Regions from separate parts of the Homo sapiens genome. Here regions 1 and 3 are each linked to region 2. The links are contacts of gene promoters, found by promoter capture Hi-C in blood cells and fetal thymus (Javierre and others, 2016). All regions are on one chromosome and are shown on one strand. Each heading gives the region's core, a stretch centred on a gene start or on the middle of the fragment in contact. The rest is flanking DNA. Distances are from core to core; before and after follow the strand shown.

What was found. The method cuts DNA at HindIII sites, captures the fragments that hold promoters and counts their contacts. A CHiCAGO score of 5 or more calls a contact.
Region 1: a contact is called between a fragment that was not itself captured here and the fragment with the promoter of POLE3 in region 2, in 1 of 17 cell types (erythroblasts). The highest score is 5.9, in erythroblasts.
Region 3: a fragment that was not itself captured here is called in contact with the fragment with the promoter of POLE3 in region 2 in 5 of 17 cell types (naive B cells, naive CD4 T cells, megakaryocytes and 2 more); the score reaches 7.6 in naive B cells.

What each region holds. Positions count from the first base shown.
Region 1 is chr9:113,540,756-113,545,625 of GRCh38, reverse strand. All of the region lies in intron 17 of RGS3 (regulator of G protein signaling 3), which reads right to left. Among named protein-coding and RNA genes, the nearest start is that of RGS3, 79 kb to the right of the region's middle. RefSeq lists enhancers at 2,254-2,769, 2,770-3,285, 4,010-4,509. The HindIII fragment of the contact is 3,376 bases long and covers 859-4,234 here.
Region 2 is chr9:113,408,804-113,413,261 of GRCh38, reverse strand. POLE3 (DNA polymerase epsilon 3, accessory subunit) reads left to right here and starts at 2,587. Exons shown (of 5, transcript NM_017443.5): 1 at 2,587-2,645; 2 at 2,854-3,034; 3 at 3,122-3,207; 4 at 3,534-3,652; 5 at 4,279-4,458. The coding sequence starts at 2,969. The coding sequence ends at 4,451. C9orf43 (chromosome 9 open reading frame 43) reads right to left here and starts at 2,515. Exons shown (of 14, transcript NM_001278629.2): 1 at 2,261-2,515. RefSeq lists enhancers at 988-1,887, 2,506-2,695, 2,936-3,215, 2,788-3,687, 2,590-3,789. The HindIII fragment of the contact is 4,412 bases long and covers 112-4,458 here.
Region 3 is chr9:113,629,372-113,633,760 of GRCh38, reverse strand. No RefSeq gene overlaps it. Among named protein-coding and RNA genes, the nearest start is that of RGS3, 170 kb to the right of the region's middle. RefSeq lists an enhancer at 1,523-2,086. The HindIII fragment of the contact is 7,179 bases long and covers 1-4,389 here.

The DNA.
Region 1 (4,870 bases), core at 1,297-3,796, 130 kb before region 2:
AGAAGGCGAAGACAGGATAGAGGGTAAGGTTGCACTGTCTTCTTCAGGGGCTAAAAAAAACAATAGCAAGATGGCTGAGACCAAGAGCAAGACAGCGAAGAAGGCAGTCTGTCCACTGATAGGACAGCAGCAAGGAATGGGGAGGAGAGCTGGTGGCTGCCTGGAAACAGTTTTTAGGGAGAAGAGTCTGCATCTCTTAGGGGAGATGGCTGAAATCAGATCCATTTGATTCCCCTTTATTCAGGGCTGAGATACTAAATCAGTCAATTAGCAAAATCTGCGCACAAAACCTGGCAGGTTCCACATGGGCAGGCCCTCTCTGTGCCCTCAGCTGGTCTCAGGTCAAAGGCCTCCTTCCAGTACTTACGCTGGGCACAAGCCAGCCTGAGCCTGAAGCTATACCTCTCTGCCTTTGGCTAATATTCCATCACTGCCAAGCACTCCATGACTCTGTCTGCTGATCCTTTTGATGCCAAATTCAAAAGGGGAAGGGGTGTAACCTAACCATTCCAGAGCTCCCTGAGAACCTGTCTTAAGGAGCTCAAACTGATCTCTCATTTTAGGCTTTTTTCAAATCTTGTGGGAAGCTATTGATCTTTTCAGCCTGTGCCACCCTCAGGAAAATGCATTCTGGAAGTTTATTCTCCACTGGGTGGAAAATAAGGCATCTCATTTTATTTATCCTAAAAGCATTCCCTCTACAGCTTGATGGGCCACAGCTTCTGACATGCCGGATATCCCTCTCTTGCCTCTTCCTGGAGATTATTGATTTCTCTTACTTCTATCCCTAAAAGACAAACCTTTTTATCAGAAATGAGTGGTAGATTAGGTTCAAAGGCCTTGGCTTGAGGGCAAGCTTGGCCCTTACCAGCTGTGTGACCTAGGATAAAACACTTAACTTCTCAGAGCCTTGGTGTCTTTCATCCATAAAACAAGGCTGCTGGGAGGCTGGGGGGAGATCATGCCTGGGGACCCCAGTTGCCATCTCCAAAGTTTAGGCTCTCACTGTGGGACTTTCGCTGTGGGGAGCCCTTCCACGTTGCAAAATTGCCTGCATTTTCACTTTGCAAAAACCCTCTTGGTGCCTTGGTGCCATGTGTGACAAATGAGGACTTTGGTAATAGAATTTATGGGGAAAAATAAAGAATAAAAATATAAGACATATATAAATAAATGTCATTATTTCCAAAAGGTCTGCAATGTCCCAACCCCCAAATAGCCAAAAGACCCAGGCCAGCAGAGATCCAGGCCTGATGGCTTACAGGATAGATGAAGAGTTTTAAAAGAACCAGAGCCTGAGACATAAAAAGAAAAAAAAAAAAAAAACATGAAAATGGGATCAGAGGGTCGGGGGTGTGTGGGGAACTAAAAGAATCACTTTGTATTCAAGTTGCACAGATGGTCTTTCCAACAATAAATGGTTGTGCTCCCATCTTCCCAGCTCCTGGGCCTGAGACACCAAACCAAGACAATTAGCCCATCAGGAAAGAGGCCATTGTGTGCTTCTTAGCATGATTTATGTAGCAGGGAGGGGCTCGGCAATGCTTCCCGTGATTATAGCTCTCAAGTGCAATTTCCATAGCTTGTTCATCATCCTGGACAGCTAGGATGGACTGGGATGCTGGACAGCAGTGGCCATCAGGTCATGTTTCATCTTCTCGAGCCTGTGGAGCCAAATTAATTGTTCGATCGATTTGAGAGGCAGAGCAGCAATGGTGCTGTGGCTCACCACAGTCACTGCCCAGGGCCCACCAGGAACTGATGTCCACTTCCCTAACAGCCGGACCTGGGACCCTGATGTGAGCATCTGCTCGACTCAGCAGCTTGTCAGGACAGGCTGGGTGAAAAGTCCTGTCCCCAGGGCTGTGTGCTGCATTCAGACTGTCCATTTCTTTGTGGCCAGAGCTCCTGTCCTCTGCACCTGTCTGGTAGACAGAGGTAGGTCACCAGGTCCAGGAGAGATGAGCTTGCTGCCTTCCCAGACAGGCGAGTCTCCTGTGCCTCACATTCCCCTTAATGTCATTTTGTAAGGGAATCAAATGAAATCAAAGTGCAGCTTGCTGTCTGTGCAGACCCAGCTGCTCAGCCTCTCACAAATCCCCCCCGCGGGCTGAGCCCTGGCAGACAGAGATGCTGTGTATCACTGGTCCCACTTCAGGCAGCGTTTACTCCCTTGCTGGGTGGGGGGCATTGGTCTGGTCACGGGCAGATCCAGCCCATCCCCTGTTAGACTGTTGAGTCAATATGTCTGATCTTTCCTAGGTTGAGAGGAGGATAAGTGGGAAGTAAGGGGTGTATTCTCTTCTAGGCCACCATTTTTGGGGTTCAAGTGGCCATAGCAGCTGAGCAAGCTCACAGGGGCACAAGAACCTTTCTCTAAAGATGCCGAGGTCTTACACAACACAAAGAATGTCCAAGGTCAGGGAACCTCTCTGGCCTCAGCCAGCCCTCAGCCTCTCTGACCCTCTTTTCCTATGCAAGTGACTCTAATCCTCTTGATACCCTTTTGCCCATGAGCCGTGTCCCTCAGACCTGCAGCCTTGGGCTTCCCTCCCTCTAGGTCTGGCAGTTAGATAAGAGTATGAGAGCTGCCCAACCCTGGGCTCCAGCTGGAGGTGCAGCAGGCAGTGAGTGGGCTGGGCTCAAACGGCTGTCCCCTTGGTTGGTCTTCCTTCAGCCCTGCGGCAGCACAGTCTCCACTAGAGCTGCTAGGCCACCCCCAGCCCAGTCCCTGGCCCTCGGAAGCCCCATGGAAAGCATGCGAAGTCAGTTTCCAGGGCACTGTGTGGCAGCTTCCTATCACAATGCTCAGCATGGGACAGAAAGACAGCACAGCAGCCCCTGCTAAGGCCTGGGCAGCAGTGAACTCTCCCACCTGGGCCAGGCTGAGCACTCACTGCCCCCAACTTCCAGGAACACTCCTAGAACTCAGCACTGCCCCCACTATCCCCCACGAGGCCTGGCCAAAAGGTGGCTCTGTGGGGAAGGTCCTAATCCTCACTCACATCCACTGAGAGAGGGGCCATTGAGGAGGAGGGTAGGCAGGGGGATGGGGCAGGGAGTCATCTCTTCTCCAGAGCCTGGCATTCAGGCATCCACTTCCCCAGCCACCATCCAGGACAAGCCACCAGGACAGTCCTCACCTAGAGAACTGAACGAGCCCCCTAACTGATCTCACACCCACTTGGGCCCCTCCTATGTGTAAACGGATCTTGTAAAAATGTACTTGCAACTCCCTTCCTCAAAAGCCTTCAATGGCTCTCCAGTGTATCTAGAATGAAATCAACAAGACATCAACTACCTCACCCACTGTGTCTTGCACCTCACTAAGCTCCAGCCACACTGGCCTGCTCGCCATTCCTCCAGCCCACTGAGCTCCTTCCCATCTCAGGGACTCTCCACGTGCTATTCCATCCACCGCGAACACTCTTCCCCAAGTCCAGGACTGGCTCCTTCCTCTCCAGCCCACAAGTCTCGGTTTAAAAGTTATGTCCTTCCCCATCCCCACCCCCACACACAGCACTCTAAGTACAATTCCCTCTTAAAGAAATCTGTGTTTTTTCTTTCATAGATGATCACAGCTTGCCATCACGTGTGTGCACGTGTGTGTGTTGGTATTGACTTATTTAACGCTCACTCCCAGCTAGACTGAAATCTTGATGAGAGCGAGACCATATCCGACTTTTTCTCCACAGTATCCCCAGCTCCTAGCATAGAGCCTGGCATAAAGTAGATGCACCCGAAATATCCATCGAATGAATGAGCCAATGTGTACAGGTGGAAAATGAGTGGATGGGCGGAGATGTCCTCTGGCAGCAGCAGATCATGGCATTGTTCTTCATCAGGGTGACCTCTCCCAACCTCTCCTGCTGCCCCCAAGGCAGGTCCGGGAGCCACCACTGGAAGCCCAGATGTGGAATGTCCTCCTCCTCCTCCTCCTTGGAAGGAAGAAGCCTCTGAGTCCTCTCCTCTTGGGACTTTCTGCTGCCAGTCTCTGCATGCCCACAAGGCCTCTCACACCATTGTGGTCCTTCTGTTGACATCCACATGCACCCTTGGGACCACTCCCTTCAGATGACCCTAGACCCACCATCTTGGTCCTCTGTTTCAGGTCCAGTTGAGGTGAGGTTACTGTGTGGTAGGGGATGCCCAAGAAAGGGTTAAGTTGCCAGAAGCAGAGTCCCGCCCTTGGGTTTGCTCAGCCAATCAGAGTCTGTCCTGGTGAGGTAAAGCTTCTATCCTGGGTGGCATTGGTTGAGTTGACCGGCCCCATCTCCTGCTGGAGAGAGCCGAAAGGGTGGAGTTTCTGTGGAACCAGACAGAACTGGAATTAGCTCGCTGTCTACTCAGGCCGGGCTGCCTGACTGCAGGACCTGCCTCTGTTCCTTTCTAAGGCACTCACACACCCTGGCATCTCCAGGGCTGTCTCTAGTGGCCCCAGTGGAGATGACAAGGTGGCACGCACCTCACCGTCACATCTGGGAGAAGTCTTAGAGCCAGAGCAGACAAGGAGGCCTCAGTTTCCCTGCCTGGGCCCCTGGAATATGGCAGATGTCTACCAGGAAGTGACATGGAGCAGTTGTCATATGTGCTCCGAGCACCAGCAGCAGCTTCAATGAACAAGGCCCCCGATGAATCTTCCCATATGGACAGCACTTTAAAACCATGACAGTGAGAACGATAGCGGCTAGTTCAGAGCTCCTCTTGCATGCCACTTTGCAAAGCACATCCTGAGTTCAATCCTCACAAGAAGCCTCTTAATCCATCCACTTTACTGATGCAAAAACTGAGTCTCAGAGAGGCTAACTGGCTCACCTGAGGTCACATTGCTTACTGTGTTACTTTGAACTATCTGTCATGTCTGTCTCTG
Region 2 (4,458 bases), core at 1,338-3,837:
AAGAGTTTGAGAGCAGGACTTCAGGTCTCCTAATTGGCTATTTAATAGCTGAGTGACCTGGGACTTAACCAGTCTGAGCCTGTTGCCTCCACTGTAAAATGAGGATAAGCTTATTTCACAGGGTCATTATAAAAATTAGTTAATGGATATTAAAAGCCTGGCATATTGTTCCAAATAAATATTTGCATCCTTTCCTTTTCCCCTTCGTTAGTCATCAGGGAGAAGATGCCACCATCTCCAAAAAGCATTATCAAATTATGACCAAAGTAGTCACAGAAGTGTCTTAGAAGGCCCAAACTTCTGGAAGACATGTTTCATTTTTCAATGTGCTTCAGTTCCCATGCAGGCAGATAAAATACCCACCAGCAATGAATGTGTTTGCTCAAATAGCAAATCACTAGACACTGCTAGTTGCATCAGAGGCCATTAGCTTTTCATTCATTGGCCATATGGCCTTTGACAAGGGTCTTCACACCTCTCTCTCAAGTAGGGGGAGGGGTCCTGACTTGGTGTCTCAGGTCTGTAACCACAGCACTTTGGTAGGCCAAGATGAGTTACCCCCTCTCCACAAAAAATAATAAATAACATAAGCAGAAGGCAGGGAATCCCTAAGTAGGACTGCAGAAGCATTAAATGAGATAATGTACTTTTATTCATGGGAGGTGTTCAATAAATATTATCATCTTTTCCTTTCTAGAGGTGTTTTAGGCAATCACTAACTACCACCTTATTCCTAAGAACTTTTTAAGGACAGTGTCCATTTCTTTCTTTTATTCAACACATTTATTGATTACTAAATATGTGAGGGGACCTGCTTTGGACATGAACAGTAATAAACAAACTCCCTGTTCTAAACAGTTTCATAATTTAGATCAAAGATAAACTATCAGCCTGGGATTGCACCTGGCCTATTACTTGTTTTGTTTGGCTAGCACTTTGAATCAATTTTAAATTTGAATCAATTTTAAAATTGAAATAGCCCACAATGTCCTTTTAGGGACCAAAATACTTGACAACACTGAGCCCAATTCCAGTTGAAGAGCAACTGACTAGCGCTGAGCAGCCCTGATGGTTTCAGCCAGGTCTGTTCTATCCAAGCGGAGTTCCCCCACCAGACCTTATGGTCTCTAATTGAAACACTTTCAGTTGCCATTTATCATAGCATTTGCTCTTTTGTTTTAAAATATTTCTCTATAATCAGGCTTCTATCGAAAGCAGGAAAACTACAGGGCGACTTGGGACTGCATGCTTGACGGGAAAAAAAAGCAGCATTAATTCTCAGTGGGAGGCTGGGCGCCGTGGCTCATGCCTGTAATCTCAGCACTTTGCAAGGCCGAGGGAGAATCACTTGAGCCCTGGAGTTCGAGACCAGCCTGGGCAACATGGTGAAACCCTGTCTCTACGAAAAATACAAAAAATTAGCTGGGTGTGATGGAACGCACCTGTAGCCCCAGCTATTTGGGGCTGAGGTGGGAGGACCACCTGAGCCAGGGAGGTCGAGGCTACAGTGAGCCGAGACCGTGCCGCTGCACTCCAGCCTGGGGGACGGAGTGAGACCCTGTCAAGAAATTTTAAAAATTAAAAAATAAATAAAATCAGTGGGAGTGAGAATTTCTACGAACTTAATATAAAAATAACTTAAAAACAACTTAAAACACCATTGCGCCGGGCGCGGTGACTGGCGCCTGTAATCCCTGCACTTTGGGAGACCGAGGCGGGCGGATCACGAGGTCAGGAGATCGAGACCATCTTGGCTAACACGGTGAAACCCTGTCTCTACTAAAAATACAAAAAAATTAGCCGGGCGTGGTGGCGGGCGTCTGTAGTCCCAGCTACTAAGGAGGCTGAGGTAGGAGAATGGCGTGAACCCGGGAGGCGGAGCTTGCAGTGAGCCGAAATCGGCGCCACTGCACTCCAACCTGGGCGACAGAGTGAGACTGTCTCAAAAAAAAAAAAAAAGAAACGCCATTGCAAAACCTTGAGAATGGTTTTAACTGGAAAAAATGTATGATGAACAATTTAACTGAAAAATAAATACAATTTTAACACGGTTTGTTTTTGAAAGCGAATGTGACGTTGCATTCTTCATACAGTGAAAAGGCTGCTTCTCGCCCTTTCGTTACCTGCCCAGTCCGAATTGACTCCTGAGACCTAATCAGGCGCATCTCTATATGGCCAGCATTATCCCTGGGCTGCCTAAATAGTTCGCGTTAAACACAAACAACAACAATAAAATCTAAATAACACTCAGTCTTAGTACCATTATTACAAAAGCGTGAGGGGCGAAAAGATTAAAAATGAACATCAACTTCGGTAGAGATGGAAAAAGACTGCCCACTCCATTCCAGGAAAGAAAAAAGAAAGTGGGAGAATCTGATCACGACGGGCTGAGGTCCTGTGAGAGCAAAGCAGATTCCAAACCGCTTAGGGTTGCTAAATCAAGTGGTAAAACGTGGCCCCTTGCGGCGCGGTGAGATTAACGGACCCGGCGGGCCCAGAGCCTGCCTCGGGTCCTAAAGGGATCCGCCCCGCCGAGTCAGCCACGCCTTCGTCTCCCACGCGCTGCGCCCGGCCGCGCCGTCACCCAGCAGCGGCGCAGGGCACCATGGGAAACGGACGGAAGCTCCATTGAGCCAAATAAGTTGGTGAGAAGGTTCCCGACGCGGCGATGGCGAGAAGCAGAGAAATGGACCTGGGGAGGGGCGTGCGGGGTGCGGTAGGGTTGGATGGAAGCCTTGGCGGGCCAAAACCACTGCGGCTTCAAAATCCGGATGCGCCGGTATTTGAGGCGGAGGCGGGGCTGTGGGGGGAGGAGGGAGGCTATGGCGCTCAGAGCACTGTGGGACACTGTAGGCCACGTGGGGCGGAACGGAAACCTCGCAGGGTCAGACCGTAGCGACGCGGGAAGTCCGGACGCAGTAGCTCCCTGAAGCGGAGGCGAAGGGGAGTTTAAGCCCCAGCGGCGGCAATGGCGGAGAGGCCCGAGGACCTAAACCTGCCCAATGCCGTGATCACCAGGATCATCAAGGAGGCGGTGAGCAGCTCGGGGGGGGCGGACGAACGGGCAGGAGGGAAGCAGGTGCTGGAACGGCAGCTTTGCTCACCCCCGGTCTCCTCGCAGCTCCCGGACGGTGTCAACATCTCCAAGGAGGCCCGGAGCGCCATCTCCCGCGCCGCCAGCGTCTTCGTGCTGTACGCCACATCCTGGTGAGCGGGACAGAGGCATAAGGGAGGCGCGGGGATACCTGGCTGGGAGTTGCTGGCTGGGAGCCTACAAACCCCAACGATTGTGTTCTCCCTCGGTGGGGACATGTTCACAGTCCTCTGCCAGTTTTTACAAGTTCTGAAGCAAAATAACACAACAAAATCACTTTGCTTTAGCTTTTTTGTGCAGAGAAGGGAAGGACTTATCCCTGTCACACCAAAATCCATACATGTAAGAGGCAGGCTTTCCCGTTCCACCTCTGGGTGCTCCTTTTCCCACTCACGCCTTACAAACAAGAGGGAGTCTGACAGCCTTTCTCTTCTCTCAGTGCTAACAACTTTGCAATGAAAGGAAAGCGGAAGACGCTGAATGCCAGTGATGTGCTCTCAGCCATGGAAGAGATGGAGTTCCAGCGGTTCGTTACCCCATTGAAAGAAGCTCTGGAAGGTAACGAGCCTCTTGTCTTCTAAACCACATAGAAGATGGTCATCCTGTGTGACCTGTTCACCAGGCCCTGAGCCTTCTCAGCGCGGGTCCCTTTAAGTCCAGTAAGCCAGCACTTGATGTGACTCGACCCAGTTCGGTGGGCACCACCTCAGATCTGTTTTGTAATGCTGAGCAAGTTATTTTTCCTTCTCTGCCTCCGTTTTTGTTTTTGTCTTGCTTTTCTTGTTTTTGTTTTTTTTTTTTTTTTTTTGAGACGGAGTCTTGCTCTGTCACCCAAGCTGGAGTGCAGTGATGGGATCTCAGCTCACCGCAGTCTCCTCCTCCTGGGTTCAAGCAATTCTCCTGCCTCAGCCTCCCGAGTAGCTGGGACTACAGGCGCACGCCACCACGTGCGGCTCATTTTTTATTTTTGTAGAGACGGGGTTTCACCATATTGGCCAGGCTGGTCTTGAACTCCTGACCTCAGGTGATCCGCCCGTCTCAGCCTCCCAAAGTGCTGGGATTACAGGCGTGAGCCACCGCGCCCATCTGCCTCCGTTTTTCCAATTGTACAATGTAATTAGCTCCTGCAGTCCGTCTGGCTCACTTTCAGCTCTGTCTCCTAACCCCTTGTTCCGTCCTTACAGCATATAGGCGGGAGCAGAAAGGCAAGAAGGAGGCCTCAGAGCAAAAGAAGAAGGACAAAGACAAAAAAACAGACTCGGAAGAGCAAGACAAGAGCAGGGATGAGGACAATGATGAAGACGAAGAAAGGCTGGAAGAAGAAGAACAGAATGAAGAGGAAGAAGTAGACAACTGAAAAGGGC
Region 3 (4,389 bases), core at 1,121-3,620, 220 kb before region 2:
TTTTTTTTTTTTTTTTTGAGACAGAATCTCCCTCTGTCACCCAGGCTGGAGTGCAGTGGCACAATCTCTGCTCACTGCAAGCTCCGCCTCCCGGGTTCACGCCATTCTCCTGCCTCAGTCTCCCGAGTAGCTGGGACTACAGGCACCCGCCACCACGCCCAGCTAATTTTTTTGTATTTTCAGTAGAGACAGGCTTTTAGTGTGTTAGCCCAGATGGTCTCGATCTCCTGACCTCATGATCCGCCCACCTCGACCTCCCAAAGTGCTGGGATTACAGGAGTAAGCCACCGTGCCCGGCCAGCTTCTGATTCTTTATCTGTACGATGAGGAGTCAAATATTTGCCTTGTGGACTTGGTGTGAGCATTAGATGAGAAAGCATACTTGAAACCCAAATGTCAGCTGCCACCTCCCTGCCCCCAGAGACAATGGAGCATAGGGACCATTGTCTATGATCAATATCAACTAATATCAACTGAGAAGCAAGTCAGGGGCTGGGCTCAGTGCCCTTTCAGGATCCTGCTATTTCATCTTCTCAACGAAATCTAAGGAAGCACTAATGTTACCCCCATTTCACAGATGAGGAAGCCGACTCACTTAGAGAAGTGTGTGTGACTCGCCAAGGTCACATGGGTAGAAAGGGCAGGGCTGAGATTTGGGCCCAGGTACCCTGAACTGGGAACCTGCTTGTTTAACCACTGTAACTCACTCCAGGCCCATGGAAGTTGAAAGCCCTCCCCGAGATTTTTGTCATGAGGGCTCTTGCCTTCTCGTGGTCTCTCTGCTCCTCGCGACTGCCGCCTCTGAGTCAGACCAGCTGTGGCTCATCTGAGTGGCCCTTTCATCACCATCTCAGCGGCCCTTTCATCACCATCTCAGCTCCTCAGTATGTCTCCTAAGATAAACCATTCAGCCCCTTCCTCAATTACCAGGAAAAACCCATATTCCCAAGAAACATGTGGGTGGCTGTAGACCTAACTGATGATGGAATGTGGAGGCATGTTTACACTGCGGTACACGCTTCGCACTGAACATTTGACATCCCTGGTTTTCAGTATCTTTTTCTGCCCAACTCCGCACCTCCAAGAACCTTCCTCTGCCCACTTTGCCTCCTAGGGCCCCCACCTTCCAGGGGCCCAGTGTTCCACCCATGCCTTCTCCTCTCTCCTCTCCTCCCACGCCTCCTCCCCCTGCACCCATTCAGTCTTGCTCTCTCCGTCTGTTAAGACTAGGAATTCCAATCCCTCCAACCCTTAATCCCAAACCTTCCCACAGTCACACCTATCAAGGGGCCTTCCAGTTAGCCAGACCCACCCTGTTATGGGACAGTCTTTGAGGGACTTCTTCATTCCTTGGCTCTGTGCCTGTTGACTCAAGTGATGATAGTTATATTAGCATAGAAAAATTCTTCCTCAGATTAAGTAGCAATGAGCTCCTTTCCGATAACAATCTTAAAATATCAAAAACCACAGACCTGGGAAATGATCCTGCCCAGAATTTCTCAATGAGACACAAATGGCCTTCACGACGTGAGACTATCCCGTGCACTGCAGGACACTTAGAATCCCTGGCTTCTCGGCACTAATGCCAACAGCACCCTGCCTTCATCCTTGTGACAACCAAAAATGCCTCCCCATTTCCAAATTTCCCCATCTGTCACACAGGCACACTCATGCATAGCCCATGAACACACACACACACAGTGCATGGAGAACTAATCATGTCTTTGTACACACGGGCTCATGAGACCCAGAGAGGCAAAGGTCTCTGCCTGAGATCACATAGCAAGTGAGGTTGGAACACAGGACCAGCAGACTGGGGGAGAGCCTCTCTCCCAATATGCAGGCTGAGGCTGCCCTGCCACTAGGCTGGGAGCCAGAAGACAAGGGCCCTGTATTGCACCCCACTCCAGATTTTTGCAAACCCAATTCCCTGGACCCCTTCATAAGGACCAGCAGGATGCCAGACAGACACCAGCAGAGAAAACCTCAGCCTCTCATATTTTGAGGACTCGGCAGATTCTGCCTGGTTCCCAGTAAACCAGAAACATGGTCGTGAAGTGAGGTTAACGCGGAGTGCTGCCCGAGAAGGCTGAGCCAGCCAGCCCTCTCTGGGGAGGCAGAAATCCTTCCCGGAGCCTGAGACCCCTCCAGCCTGGCTGTGGGGAGTCAGCTGCTGTCAGCTGCCCAGAGATGAAGGTCAGGGGACAGGAGAGGGGATTTCCAGAACCCAAAAGCCAAGTGTGCCAGCAAGTCTATGCCTTCCAGATGTGAGGACATACGAGGCCAAACACAGCTCCAGTCTCATCCAGAGACACAGTGCCAGGAGACGGGGAGGCAGGCTCAAAGAGGAAGATGTGATCCTTGACTGCACCCCCTACAGTGCGCAGAGCACCCCCATTCACCTCTGTGAATCCTTATAGTGACCCTGCAAGGTAACCATAGCATCCCCATTTCACAGATGAGGAGATAGAGGCTCAAAAAGGCAAACTTGCCACCTACTAGCTGTGTGACCAAGAACATGCAATGTAACCACCCTGGGCTTCAGTTTCTCCTTCTGGATCATCTGGAGGGTATGGCCTGCCTTTAGGATGTTTTTGAGGCTAAACGAGGCAAACCTTTGTTATAGTAGCCCAATGCCTAGCTAGCAACAGGTGCAGAAATAATGCTATTGGAACCAGCAGGTTGAACAAGCCAGACTGGTAATGTAATCAAAAGCACAACTTTATTTTTGTGTTCCATTATCTCTTTAAAATGTAGTCAGTGGGACAACTCCAGGAAGGGTTGGGGGGGGCGACTTTTTTGCTGTCTTAGTAATGACAATTCCTTTAAATTGCAAACACAGTCCAAGGCAATCATGTCTATTTCTAGACCAGTGCAGAATTTTCTGGTCTAGAAATAGACAGAATGTCAGTTTCTTCTCACCTCCAATCCCATTCTCCAGGCTGCAGTTTCAACCTAGCGAAGGTTTGAGTAGTAAGGAAGAAAGAGGGTTAAAGCGAGTGCACAGAAGAGTTCTTTCTCAGGTCATTTTAAAATTGAGACAAACATGACATTTCTTACGTGTCTCAGTTTGTGGTTGCATCTGTATCTGCTACGCACACACACACACACACACACACACACATATTCTAATACTGTTACTTTTTAGGAATTCTCGTATGTATAGAGTATGGTAGATATTGCAGCTAAGTTATGTAACCTTGTGGTTTCCCTTTAATAAACCATGAACACCGTCTTCTCTCATTGCACATACTTTTAATTTATTTTTTGAGATACAATTCACATAACGTAAAACTCACTACTTTAAAGTGTACAATTCAGGCCTGGCACGGTGGCTCACGCCTGTAATTCCAGCACTTTGGGAGGCCACAGCGGGTGGATCACCTGAGGTCAGGAGTTCGAGACCAGCCTGGCCAACATGGTGAAACCTCGTCTGTACTAAAAATATAAAAATTAGCCATTAGCTAGGCATGATGGTGGGCGCCTGTAATCCCAGCTACTCAGGAGACTGAGGCAGAAAGAATCACTTGAATCCAGGAGGCAGAGGTTGCAGTGAACCAAGATGGTGCCACTGCACTCCAGTCTGGGCAACAGAGTGAGATTCTGTCACAATAAATAAATAAATAAATTGTACAATTCAGTGGCTTTTAGTATACTATGTTGTACAACTATCACCACTACCTAATTCTAGAACATTTCTATCATCCCCAAAAGAAATCTTATACCTATTAACAGGTCGGTGCAAAAGTAATTGCAGTTTTTGACGTTTTTTATTTTAAGTGGCCAAAACCGCAATTACTTCTGCACTGACCTAATACTAGCCAATCCCCAACTCCCCTTCCCCTCATTTCCTGGCAACGAATCTGCTTTCTATCTGTCTGCATTTGGCACCTGGATAGGTTATATAATTGGAATTCTACAACATTTGACTATTTGTAACTGGCTTCTTTCATTTGGCATAATACTTTCAAGGTTAAACATTTCAAGTTGTAGCATAAATCAGTACTTCATTCTTTTTTATGGCTAAATAATACTCCACTGTTTAGACAGATCACATTTTGTGTATCCCTTTAGCAGTTGATCAACATTTGAGTTTTTTCTACTCTTTGAAAATTATTAATCATGTGCTGTGAGCATTCATTTACAGGTTTTTGCGTGAATATATTTCCACTTCTCTTGGATCTATACCTCGGAGTGAAATTTCTGAGTCCTGTGGTCAATATTTTTTATTTTTTTCTCTTTTTGAGACGGAGTCCGGCTCTGTTGCACAGGCTGGAGTGCAGTGGCGCTATCTTGGCTCATTGCAACCTCTGCCTCCCGGGTTCAAGCAATTCTCCTGCCTCAGCCTCCTGAGTAGCTGGGATTATGGGCACGTGCCAACACACCTGG